Linked DNA regions of Homo sapiens: region 2 is linked to region 1. Evidence: promoter capture Hi-C in 16 types of primary human blood cells and fetal thymus (Javierre and others, 2016). All regions are on one chromosome and are shown on one strand. Each heading gives the region's core, a stretch centred on a gene start or on the middle of the fragment in contact. The rest is flanking DNA. Distances are from core to core; before and after follow the strand shown.

The links. The method cuts DNA at HindIII sites, captures the fragments that hold promoters and counts their contacts. A CHiCAGO score of 5 or more calls a contact.
Region 2: a fragment that was not itself captured here is called in contact with the fragment with the promoter of YKT6 in region 1 in 1 of 17 cell types (M1 macrophages); the score reaches 5.0 in M1 macrophages.

The regions. Positions count from the first base shown.
Region 1 is chr7:44,199,723-44,205,071 of GRCh38, reverse strand. YKT6 (YKT6 vesicular SNARE protein) reads right to left here and starts at 4,094. Exons shown (of 7, transcript NM_006555.4): 1 at 3,833-4,094; 2 at 422-504. The coding sequence starts at 3,936. RefSeq lists a silencer at 3,918-3,987. The HindIII fragment of the contact is 756 bases long and covers 3,448-4,203 here.
Region 2 is chr7:44,405,776-44,411,134 of GRCh38, reverse strand. All of the region lies in intron 3 of NUDCD3 (NudC domain containing 3), which reads left to right. Among named protein-coding and RNA genes, the nearest start is that of NUDCD3, 82 kb to the left of the region's middle. The HindIII fragment of the contact is 239 bases long and covers 2,030-2,268 here.

The DNA of each region.
Region 1 (5,349 bases), core at 2,845-5,344:
TAAATGCCTAAACCTGAATTATCAGAAAGAAAAAATAGTTTTTTCAGATTCCTGATCAAAAAATCTACGATGCACAGAATACATATAGTACCTCAACAGTGCTAGCTGGAAATCCTTTTTTGAGGGGTCTGCAACTCTGAAGAGGATAGGGAAGAATACGATATGAAGGCTGCTTACTGCTCCAAAAGAGTCAGACCCTAATCTTAAATGAGTCTAAGTTTGAGGGCAATTTTATCTGGGAAGCTCAGACTTCAACAGTGGGCACAGAATTCTGCATAAATAGGAAAAGGAAGAGGTGGGAAAGAGAGAACAAGCTAGAGGAGGAGTAGGGTCCCAGTAGAAAGGAGAAAGCTGGGTGCTATGTGAGGTGAGGCATGGCAGCCAGGCCAGCACACGCACAGAAGTTGGAGGGTCTTCTTACCTTGTTCTTTGACAGAAGCTCTAGTGCCTTTCGATGAGCGCTCCACAATCAGTTGACTCGTGAAGGTCATGAATTCCTGAACGCTAAGAAACACAAAATGTATTTATTGCCTACTTCTTATCACCTTGTCCCCAACACAGTGGAAAGTGACCTCTGGGCTTATACATTAAGTAGACATTGCTTCTTGGTTTCATTCCTTTCCCTCCCATCCCTAGTAACAAACACTCTATAAATGAGCACAAATACTGATAATTATGAATTATCATCACCATGAAAGCTCCATCTGTTTGCTACCTGGCTCACCAAAACAGGTGAATTTTCTGGGGGGTTTTTCCACAGGATACAGTCAATTTTACATTTTGGTGAATGCATAATTTGGAATGCAATGGAAAAACAAGAGGCAGGTCCTGCTCTCAAGGTCCCAATAACTTCCAAGAAGCAGGACATTTATAAGAACTGCACTAGAAGAATAGTGTGCAAAAACTGTCAGGCAGAAATGCACAACCATTTATGGCTGTGTCCACATGACAGACCCTCGCAATGCCACATACACCCATAGTGAGTGCTGGCTCAGGTCTGCTGGGGCTCGTCCACAGAACGAGCGCAAGACACTCTGGATGGAACAAAAGGAAAACTGCTCATCCAAGACAAAGAAGTGGGAAATGGCTCATACAAAGGGTGAAAGGGAGAAGGTCCATCATGGGCTCAACAGAGAGATCTATCCAGAACAGAACAGTCACAGGAGATGGTACAGCCAGAGGAAGAGGTGCTGACAAGGAGCCTCCAACTGAGGATGTGATATAAAGGGCAACCAGGGCCATCAAAGCAGGGTGCTCAAATGGGAGTCTGCAGCAGGCTCCAGCAGAGCCATATAGGTAACTGAAGGCCTGACTCTGGGCCTGTGTGCTGTGCCTCCACATTAAAAAAATCAAGATTTGTGCAACAGTTAAACGAGGTAATACGTGTAAAGCACTTGGAACAATGCCTGCACACACAGTATTACTTGTTAATATCTTGAGGGACTGAAGTGATCAAAATAACCCCTCAGAAAAGAAGACCTCAAACAAGGAAGGCTTTGCAGTAAACCTAGAGACAGCATTTGAGACACGGCTATAAAGAGACAAAGGAAGAACTGCATTGTGACAGCATGTATACAAAGACCAAAAAAGCTGGGAAACTACTTTTTCAACTTTGGAATCGGGTAATTATAGGGCACAAAGGACGTAAGTAAAGCGGTCTTATAAGAAAACAAGCTCAGGCCGGACGTGGTGGCTCAAGCCTGTAATCCTAGCACTTTGGGAGGCCAAGGCAGGCGGATCACTTGAGCTCAGGAGTTCGAGACCAGCCTGGCTAACATGGTAAAACCCCATCTCTACTAAAAATACAAAAATTAGCCGGGTGTGGTGGTGCGCGCCTGTAATCCCAGCTACTTGGGAGGCTGAGGCAGGAGAATCACTTGAACCCAGGAGGCGGAGGTTGCAGTGAGCTGACACTGTGCCACTGCACTCCAGCCTGGGTGACAGAGCAAGACTCCATCTAAAATAAAATAAATAAATAAATAAATCAGCTGGGACATGTGTTGTTTTAAGACATATTAGTAGAGATGTCCCTTTAGTGTTGCAGCTGTTAGTCATTGGAAACTAGTGTGGGCATCCCAAGCAGGTGAGGTATAAGTCCTACAAGTGAAATCTCTGAGAATCTTAAGTACTAATGGGAAGGAAAAAGGAAAAAGAATCAGAGCCAAGTTGGCACCAAAAGTTCCATCTGAGAAAAGCAACAACACAGAGCAGTGAATGTAGGCCATGGTAAAGACTGCAAAGACCAAGAACCCCAAGAAGGAGCTAAAAGATAATGCAGCAATTCCGCTTCTGGGTAAATACCAAAAAAATGCGAGCAGGGTCTTGAAGAGATATTTGTACATCCATGTTCATAGCAGTATCATTCACAATGGCTGAAATGTGGAAGCAACCCAGGTGTCCACTGACAGATGAACAGATAAGCAAAATGTGGTGAATAATACAATGGATTATTCAGCCTTAAAAAGGAAAGAAATTCTGATATATGCAACAAGATGCATGAGCCTTGAGGACATTATGCTACATGAAATAAGCCAGACACACAAAAACTATATGATTCCATTTATCTAAGGTCGCCAGAAAAGTCAAAATCACAGAGACAAATTAGAATGGCAGTTGCCATGGGCTGGGGGAGAAGGGAATGTGTTTAATAGACACGAATTTGATAAAAAGGAGTTCTGGAGACGATTGACAGTGATGGCTGCACAACACTATCAATCTATTTCATATCAATGCACTCACTACACGCTTAAAGATAGTGAAGATAAATTTTGTGTACCATTTTACCACAATTAAAAATATTTTTTTAAAAGAACTCAAAGAAGCAGAAAGTTTCAACAAAATAACATTTTTTTTTTTTTACATCCAGCAAGTCCTTGGCAAAGAACTCTCATCAAGAACCAGCTGCACTGAAGCAGGGAAAACAGAATCCAAACGGCAGATTCCATCAGATTTTGAGACAAGATGACCATAGATACCGACCATGTAGGGTCCTCCTTCTTTCGTGCCTGAGTCACCCCAATCCCTCCCACGAATGGTCTGGAAGTGTCTGTGTTACTTCTAACACGTTCCAGCAATTAAAGCGCCCCAGAAACAAGTAAAAGCCTGTAAGCCCTACAGATCCCATGCTTCATTTGCATCTTCCGTGTGGAATCCTTTTGTACCACTAGTGTCCAACTAAAAAGCGTTAAACCTGGCTTTCAGTTCTAGCTGGTTGTGATATAACCTCTTGGTACCTCAGTGACTTCACCCATTAAAAACAAACAAAAAAAAGTATATCACTATCTCTCATACAGAATTGTTGGGAAGCCCCGCAAGAAAATCAAAATATGGCTCTCAAGATGCGGCACCCAAGCTCCCAGAGTCAGAATCACTGGGTGGGAAGTGTTGGTCTAAAATATAAATACCGAGGCCTCAATCTACTAATTCAGAACATCTTGGCATGAAGCTTGGAAATCTGCACTACTTCACAGTCTCCTTAAAATTTTTACACGACAGAAATTTGAAAAACACTGAGTAGAGAACTATATTCTAGAATGGTATAAGCTCTTAAAGAGCTAATGTTGGTTCCTCAAAGGTAGAGTCCACGGCCAGATTCCATTATAGGAGACCAAGCCCGGACAGCAGACCCCGGGCCCTCCCCACCCCGCCCCGCCTCTGACTCGGACACCAGCCTTCTCAGACCCCGGGCACTCGGCCACCCCGCCCTGCCCCTACCCTTGGCCTCCTCCACCCTCCCCTCATCCCTCCGCCGACCCCAGGCCCACTCCGACTCGGACCCCCACCCCAGTCCTCTCCGCCCGACCGCCACGGCCCACCAGCCTGTGCCGCTCACCTGGATCTCTGGAAAAAGCTGAAGGAAGACACATCGTATGCGGCTTTGAGCAGCACCACCTTGGCCTCGCCTTTGTAGAGGACGCTGAGGCTGTACAGCTTCATGGCTCCGCGCCCTCAGGCCGCCCGCCTGCCCAGCTGCGGGACCCGTTCTCAGGGAGCAGCGCGGCCGCCGCCCCTCGGGACCGCCGCCGCCTACCGGCCTCTCAGCAGCCGGCTGCTGACGGGGCCACCGCCGGCTTCCTCCTCCTGGCTCGCAATCCACTTCCGGATCCGGTCAGCCTGGTTGAGGGTTCTCATACTCCGGATGCAGAAATGTGAGCCCGGAAGTACAATGCAGCGAGGGGCGGGATGCCACGCCTCGCGTAAGCTTGGCCCCTCCCTGCTCGCCAGGTGGAGTCGGGCGCGCGGCGGGATACCGTACTGTCTTGTGCTGGGTGGTGCTGGGCCTCCCACAGCGGCCTGAACCCTTCTTTTTTTTTTTTTTCTTTTCTTTCTTTTTTTAAAGTAAGCATTTTTTTTATTATTATACTTTAAGTTTTAGGGTACATGTGCACAACGTGCAGGTTTGTTACATATGTATACATGTGCCATGTTGGTGTGCTGCACCCATTAACTCGTCATTTAGCATTAAGTATATCTCCTAATGCTATCCCTCCCCCCTCCCCCCACCCCACAACAGTCCCCGGTGTGTGATGTTCGCCTTCCTGTGTCCATGTGTTCTTATTGTTCAATTCCCACCTATGAGTGAGAACATGCGGTGTTTGGTTTTTTGTCCTTGCAATAGTTTGCTGAGAATGATGGTTTCCAGCTTCATCCATGTCCCTACAAAGGACATGAACTCATCATTTTTTATGGCTGCATAGTATTCCATGGTGTATATGTGCCACATTTTAGGAGGAGCTTGTACCATTCCTTCTGAAACTATTCCAATCAAAAGAAAAAGAGAGAATCCTCCCTAACTCATTTTATGAGGCCAGCATCATCCTGATACCAAAGGGTGGCAGAGAGAGACACAACAAAAAAAGAATTTTAGACCAATATCCTTGATGAACATTGAAGCAAAAATCCTCAGTAAAATACTGGCAAACCGAATCCAGCAACACATCAAAAAGCTTATCCACCATGATCAAGTGGGCTTCATCCCTGGGATGCAAGGCTGGTTCAACATACGAAAATCAGTAAACGTAATCCAGCATATAAACAGAACCAAAGACAAAAACCACATGATTATCTCAATAGATGCAGAAAAGGCCTTTGACAAAATTCAACAACCCTCATGCTAAAAACTCTCAATAAATTAGGTATTGATGGGACGTATCTCAAAATAATAAGAGCTATCTATGACAAACCCACAGCCAATATCATACTGAATGGACAAAAACTGGAAGCATTCCCTTTGAAAACTGGCACAAGACTGGGATGCCCTCTCTCACCACTCCTTTTCAACATAGTGTTGGAAGTTCTGGCCAGGGCAATCAGGTAGGAGAAGGAAATAAAGGGTATTCAATTAAGAAA
Region 2 (5,359 bases), core at 900-3,399, 210 kb before region 1:
CCAACTTCATTTTGAATTATTAGACCAGTTTCATTCTTTTGCATGTGAATACTCAGTTCTCATGGTACAATTACTTGAAAATACTATTCTTTTCCCATTGAATTGTCTTGGTACTCTTGTCTAAAATCAATTGATCATAAATATATGAGTTTGTTACTAGACTTTATTTTGAGATAGAGTCTCGCTCTGTTGCCAGGCTGGAGTGCAGTGACGCGATCTTGGCTCACTGCAACTTCTGCCTCCTGGGTTCAAGCGATTTCCTGCCTCAGCCTCCCGAGTAGCTGGAACTACAGGCACGCACCACCATACCTAGCTAACTTGTGTATTTTTAGTAGAAATATGGTTACCCCCTGTTGGCCAGGATAATGTCGATCTCTTGACCTCATGATCTGCCTGCCTCGGCCTCCCAGAGTGCTGGGATTACAGGTGTGAGCCACCATGCCTGGCCTGTTACTAGACTTTTTTTTTTTTGAGACAGAGTCTTGCTCTGTCCCCCAGGCTGGAGTGCAGTGGCAGGATCTCCACTCACTGCAAGCTCCACCTCCTGGGTTCACACCATTCTCCTGCCTCAGCCTCCCAAGTAGCTGGGACTACAGGCACCCGCCACCACACCCGGATAATTTTTTTTGTATTTTTAGTAGAGACGGGGTTTCACCATGTTAGCCAGGATGGTCTTGATCTTCTGACCTCGTGATCCACCCACCTCGGCCTCCCAAAGTGCTGGGATTACAGGCGTGAGCCACTGTGCCTGGCTGTTTTTAGACTTTTAATTCTGTTCCATTGATCTGTATAGATGCCTGTCCTTATGCCAGTACCACACTGTTTTGATTACTGTAGCTTTATAGTAAGTTCTGAAGATTTTATTCCTTGTTTTTGTTCTGTTCCTTCATTATTGACTTGGCTTTTTTGACAGTTTGATTATGACATCTAGGTGAGGCTGGCTCCCTTTTAGTTTATTTTACTTGGAATTCATTGAGCTTCTTGGGTGTAATTTTTTTCATGTCAAATTTGGAAAGTTTTTAGCCATTATTCTTTCAAATATTCTTTCTTCTTTTCTCTTCTGTATGTTGGTATGCTTAATAGTGTCCCTCAGGTTCTGTGACTCTGTTTATTTTTCTTCACTGTTTTTTCCTCCTGTTTCGCAGTTTGGGTAATCTCAATTGACCTGTCTTCAAGTTTGCTTGTTCTTTCTTCTAAATGCTAAAAAGTGGTTTTGAGCCCCTTTCATGAACGCTTATCTTTTCCCCCTTTTACTTTTGAACTCCAGAATTTGTATTTGATTCTTAAAAAAATGGTAATAATAATTTCTATCTCGTTATCAGTATCAATAGTGATACTGATATTTATTGATATTCTCTACTTAAAAGACGTTATTCCCATACTTTCCTTTAGTAATTTTTGCATAGTTTTCTTAGCTCTTTGAGCATATTTAAAATAGGTGATTTAGAGACTGTTTTCTGCTAAGTTCTTCATATGTGGGCTTCCTCAGGGACAGATTTTATTGATTGCTTTCTTTTTCCTATGTATGGGCCATACTTTGTTGTTTCTTTGTCTAATTTTTTTTTTTTTGCTGTTATTGAGAAATGGATTTTTAAATAACACAATGGGGTGACTCAGGAAATCAGATGCTCCTTTCTTCCCATGGTTGCTATTGGTACGTGATATAGTTGTTCTTGTTTAATGACTTTTCTGAACTAATTCTGTAAAGTTTGTATTCTTTATTGTGTCTGACCAGTGAAATCTGTACTTGGTGAACTTAGTGGCCAAGTAATTATTAGATGGCGATTTCCTTAAACTCCTGGGATCAGTAAACACCTGTTTTTGTCGAGGGGCTTCATCTACCTGTTGGAGCATACCTTCATTGCTTGGCCTAACAGTTAAAAACTGCCTTAGCCTTTATTTCCTGCTGATGTTGAGTCAAAGTCAGCCAGAGGTGAGAGCTTAAGGCCTTCTTAGGTTTTTCCTGAGTGTGCAGTGAAGCTCTGTACATTCATGTGTCTTTCTAGATTCCTGGGAAAATGTCAAAGCTTTTCAAAGCCCCCACGGACATTTTATTTCCCACCTTTGCCTTTGGTTTGCCTCAGTTGTTATCTGCCACCTCAGGAGGCTGCAAAGTTAAAACACTTGCCGTATTTTCAACAGACACTCCTGGGTTGGGAGGAAGGCTTTTCTGAGTTTAGCCAGAAACAGTCAGTCAGTCTTGCAAATGAGGTCTTACAGGGAACCATCAGACAGGTCAAATGATGACAGTTCTTTGAGAATGAAGCTTTGAAAGAGCTCTAAGAGCACTGTTTTCTCCAGCGATGGCTGCTACGCTGTACCAGGAATGCGGCCTGCTGAGAGCCTGGAGAGTGGGGATGGGTCTAGGCCAAATTAAAATATCACAGAGCTCACTGTTCTTACTGAGATGTGGTTGTTTTCCTTGAATTAATGCTCCCTGGGTTCCTGCAAACCTTTGGTTAGTTTCCAAAATCCATAAGAAGTTGATACTGACAATTTTTGCCAACTTTTTGGTTGCTTTTATGGAGGAGAGCTTTTTGGAGGCCTGTAGTAACCACCATTTTCACTGACATCCTTTGGATCAGGAATCTCTTAAATCTTTTTTGTTTTCCTGAGGGTTCTTGCTGCCCTTCTTTTTTATCTTGTTATCAAAAATAGTATACTTCATCATAACCTCAGAATTACCCAGATTCATTAATACTGAGTATTGTCTAGAAATCTCTTTCTGCCTGAACTCCACTCTAGACTGGTTATTTCCTGTTCTGCTGTATAGCTACACTCCTGGTATTTTCTTCCTGCGTTTATAGATTAAATGCAGTTTTTGGACTTGAGTTGGATATTCCTCTTTTTCAGTTTTCATCCTCATTTTGTTTTTCTCAAAGTGATATATAATGTAGAATTGTTGTATATCTTAAAATGCATTTATTTTAACTTTTCACTTATTTCTCAGTTTGGGTGTATGTAGAATTCTAGCTTAAAAATAATTTTCCCTTGTTAGGATTGAAAGGGATATCTTCTTACACTCTGTGTAATTGATTCTGGAAGTCTATTCCATCTCTTTGTGAGTAAGCTTTTTCTCCTCCTTGGAACTTTCAGGACCTTTTTAAAAACACCCAGTGTCATAAAATTTCATGAGTCTTTCATTCATTCTGCTTAGCTCTTGGTGGGACTTTTCAATCTGGAGGCATATTTTCCTTTGGCTCTGGAAAATTATCTTATTACTGTCATAATTTCTGGAATGCCAAATTGATTGCCTGAATTGATCTGTGTTTCTACCTTGATTTCTTTGACTTTATCTTCCAGCCTCTTTATTGAAGTTTAATTTTAGCTACTGTATTTTAAATTCTTGTGTTCTTTCTTTTTGGCCTAATTGTTCTATTTTCATATTTTATTCTGGTTATATGGATATAGTGTCTTCTCAGATCTCTGTGAAGACATAAAATAGAAATATTTTTGGATATCTTTTTTCCAAATTAGCTCTGTATTTTTTTTTAACTTGTTTTCATCTGCCTGTTTTTTCTCACAAGATGCAGTCTTCAGTTCTCTAGTTTTTTTTTTTTTTTTTTTTGAGACAGAATTTCACTCCTGTTGCTCAGGCTCCTGTTGCAATGGTGCAGTCTCGGCTCACCGCAACCTCTGCCTCCCAGGTTCAAGCGATTCTCCTGCCTCAGCCTCCGGAGTAGCTGGGGTTACAGGCATACAACACCACGCCTGGCTAATTTTGTATTTTTGGTAGAGACGGGGTTTCTCCATGTTGGTCAGGCTGGTCTCGAACTGTCAACCTTAGGTGATCTGCCTGCCTCGGCCTCCTAAAGTGCTGAGATTACAGGTGTGAGCCACCATGCCCGGTCTTTTTTTTTTTTTTAATACAAAAATATTTTTCTCCCATTCTCTTGAGTGTGGGACCGTATTGATGGGTTTGTCTACTGTGTGTCTGAAACCTGCTCGTCCCACCACCACCGACAGCTGAGTGGATTGACCAGTCAGCTTTGCTTTATAGGACATAGGGTCTTGGCATCCTAATGCTTGAGTGAGTAGGACTTCACTTGACACACAGGCATCCACACTAGGTCCTCAGACTGCTGGTCAGTGTCTTTGGAGCAAGGTCCTCCATTCTTCTGTAGCAAACAGAGGGATTCCTGTCCCTTTCAGTGGGGCGTCCAGGGCCACAGCAGTTCCCACATGTGCCCCTGGCCTTGCTCCTGCTCTGCATACCTGCCGACTCCCAACTGGAGCCTATGTAGCTGTGGCTTCTGGATGTCTCCTACCCTATAGGATTTGTCTCCTGTGCCCCTCCTCCTTTTGTCTTCTGCAGATTTGTTGACATCTCATCTGTTCCTGGCCTCCCTCTTCCCCCATTTTCACTGTCTGGGGTTTTTCTCTTCATGCCTATTATGCCTGCAGTTCACAAGAGGTCAGAGAGATGGCTGTCTGTTCCCAGTGTGACATCTTCACCTGGGACCTCTGGAAGCATTTCTTGTCTGGTTTTCTCCCTTGATGATTTGGTTCATTCCCCTGGGTAGGCAGTGTGAGAAGCTTCCCCAAATTTGGAAATTATTATGTTATATAGAGCTGGGTGGGAGAATTATATTTGTTAAGTGAGCTTGTTCTTGTGAAGGCAGGCTGAGGAGCCTTGGGCCCTCTGTGTCGTGTTTCCATTGCACACAAGTTCATGGTTAGACATGATTTGGCCCAACATGTGTCTGGATCATTTCAGGAGTGAGTGGATCTGTTGTTCCATTTGCTCACGTTCCTCATGGTGTTAGAAGGTAGGGAGTGAAGCTCAGTTGCCTATTGTTCAATAGGACTAGCCAAGTAAATACCCTTTTCCGTGGTAAATTCCCCTATGAAAGGTCATGCAAGTGGAACTGCGATCTCATGAGAGGATGCTTCCTTGGAGTCTGCATGTGAACCTGGCAGAGCCGCCTGTGGTTAGCAGAATATCTTCGCTGTGTCCCCCAGTGGGCAGCCTTCTGCCACCTTCTCCCCTCACTGCATGGCTCAGGAACTATCTTTCATTTAGTAACTATCTGATGGGCTGGATGTGGTGGCTCACATGTGTCATCCCAGCACTTTGGGAGGCTGAGGCAGTAGGATCACTTGGGGCCAAGAGTTCGAGACCAGCCTGGGCAACAGCAAGACCCCTGTCTCTACAAAAAATAAAAATAAAATTAGCCAGGCATGGTGGCACGTACCTGTAGTCCCAGTTACTCGGGAGGCTGAGGTGGAGGGATTGCTTCAGCCCAGGAGTTTGATGCAGCAGTGAGCTGGGATCACGCCACTGCACTCCAGCCTGGGCAATGCAGTGAGGCCGTGTCTCTTAAAGAAAAAGAAGAAAAACTGACAGCGGTGACTCCTG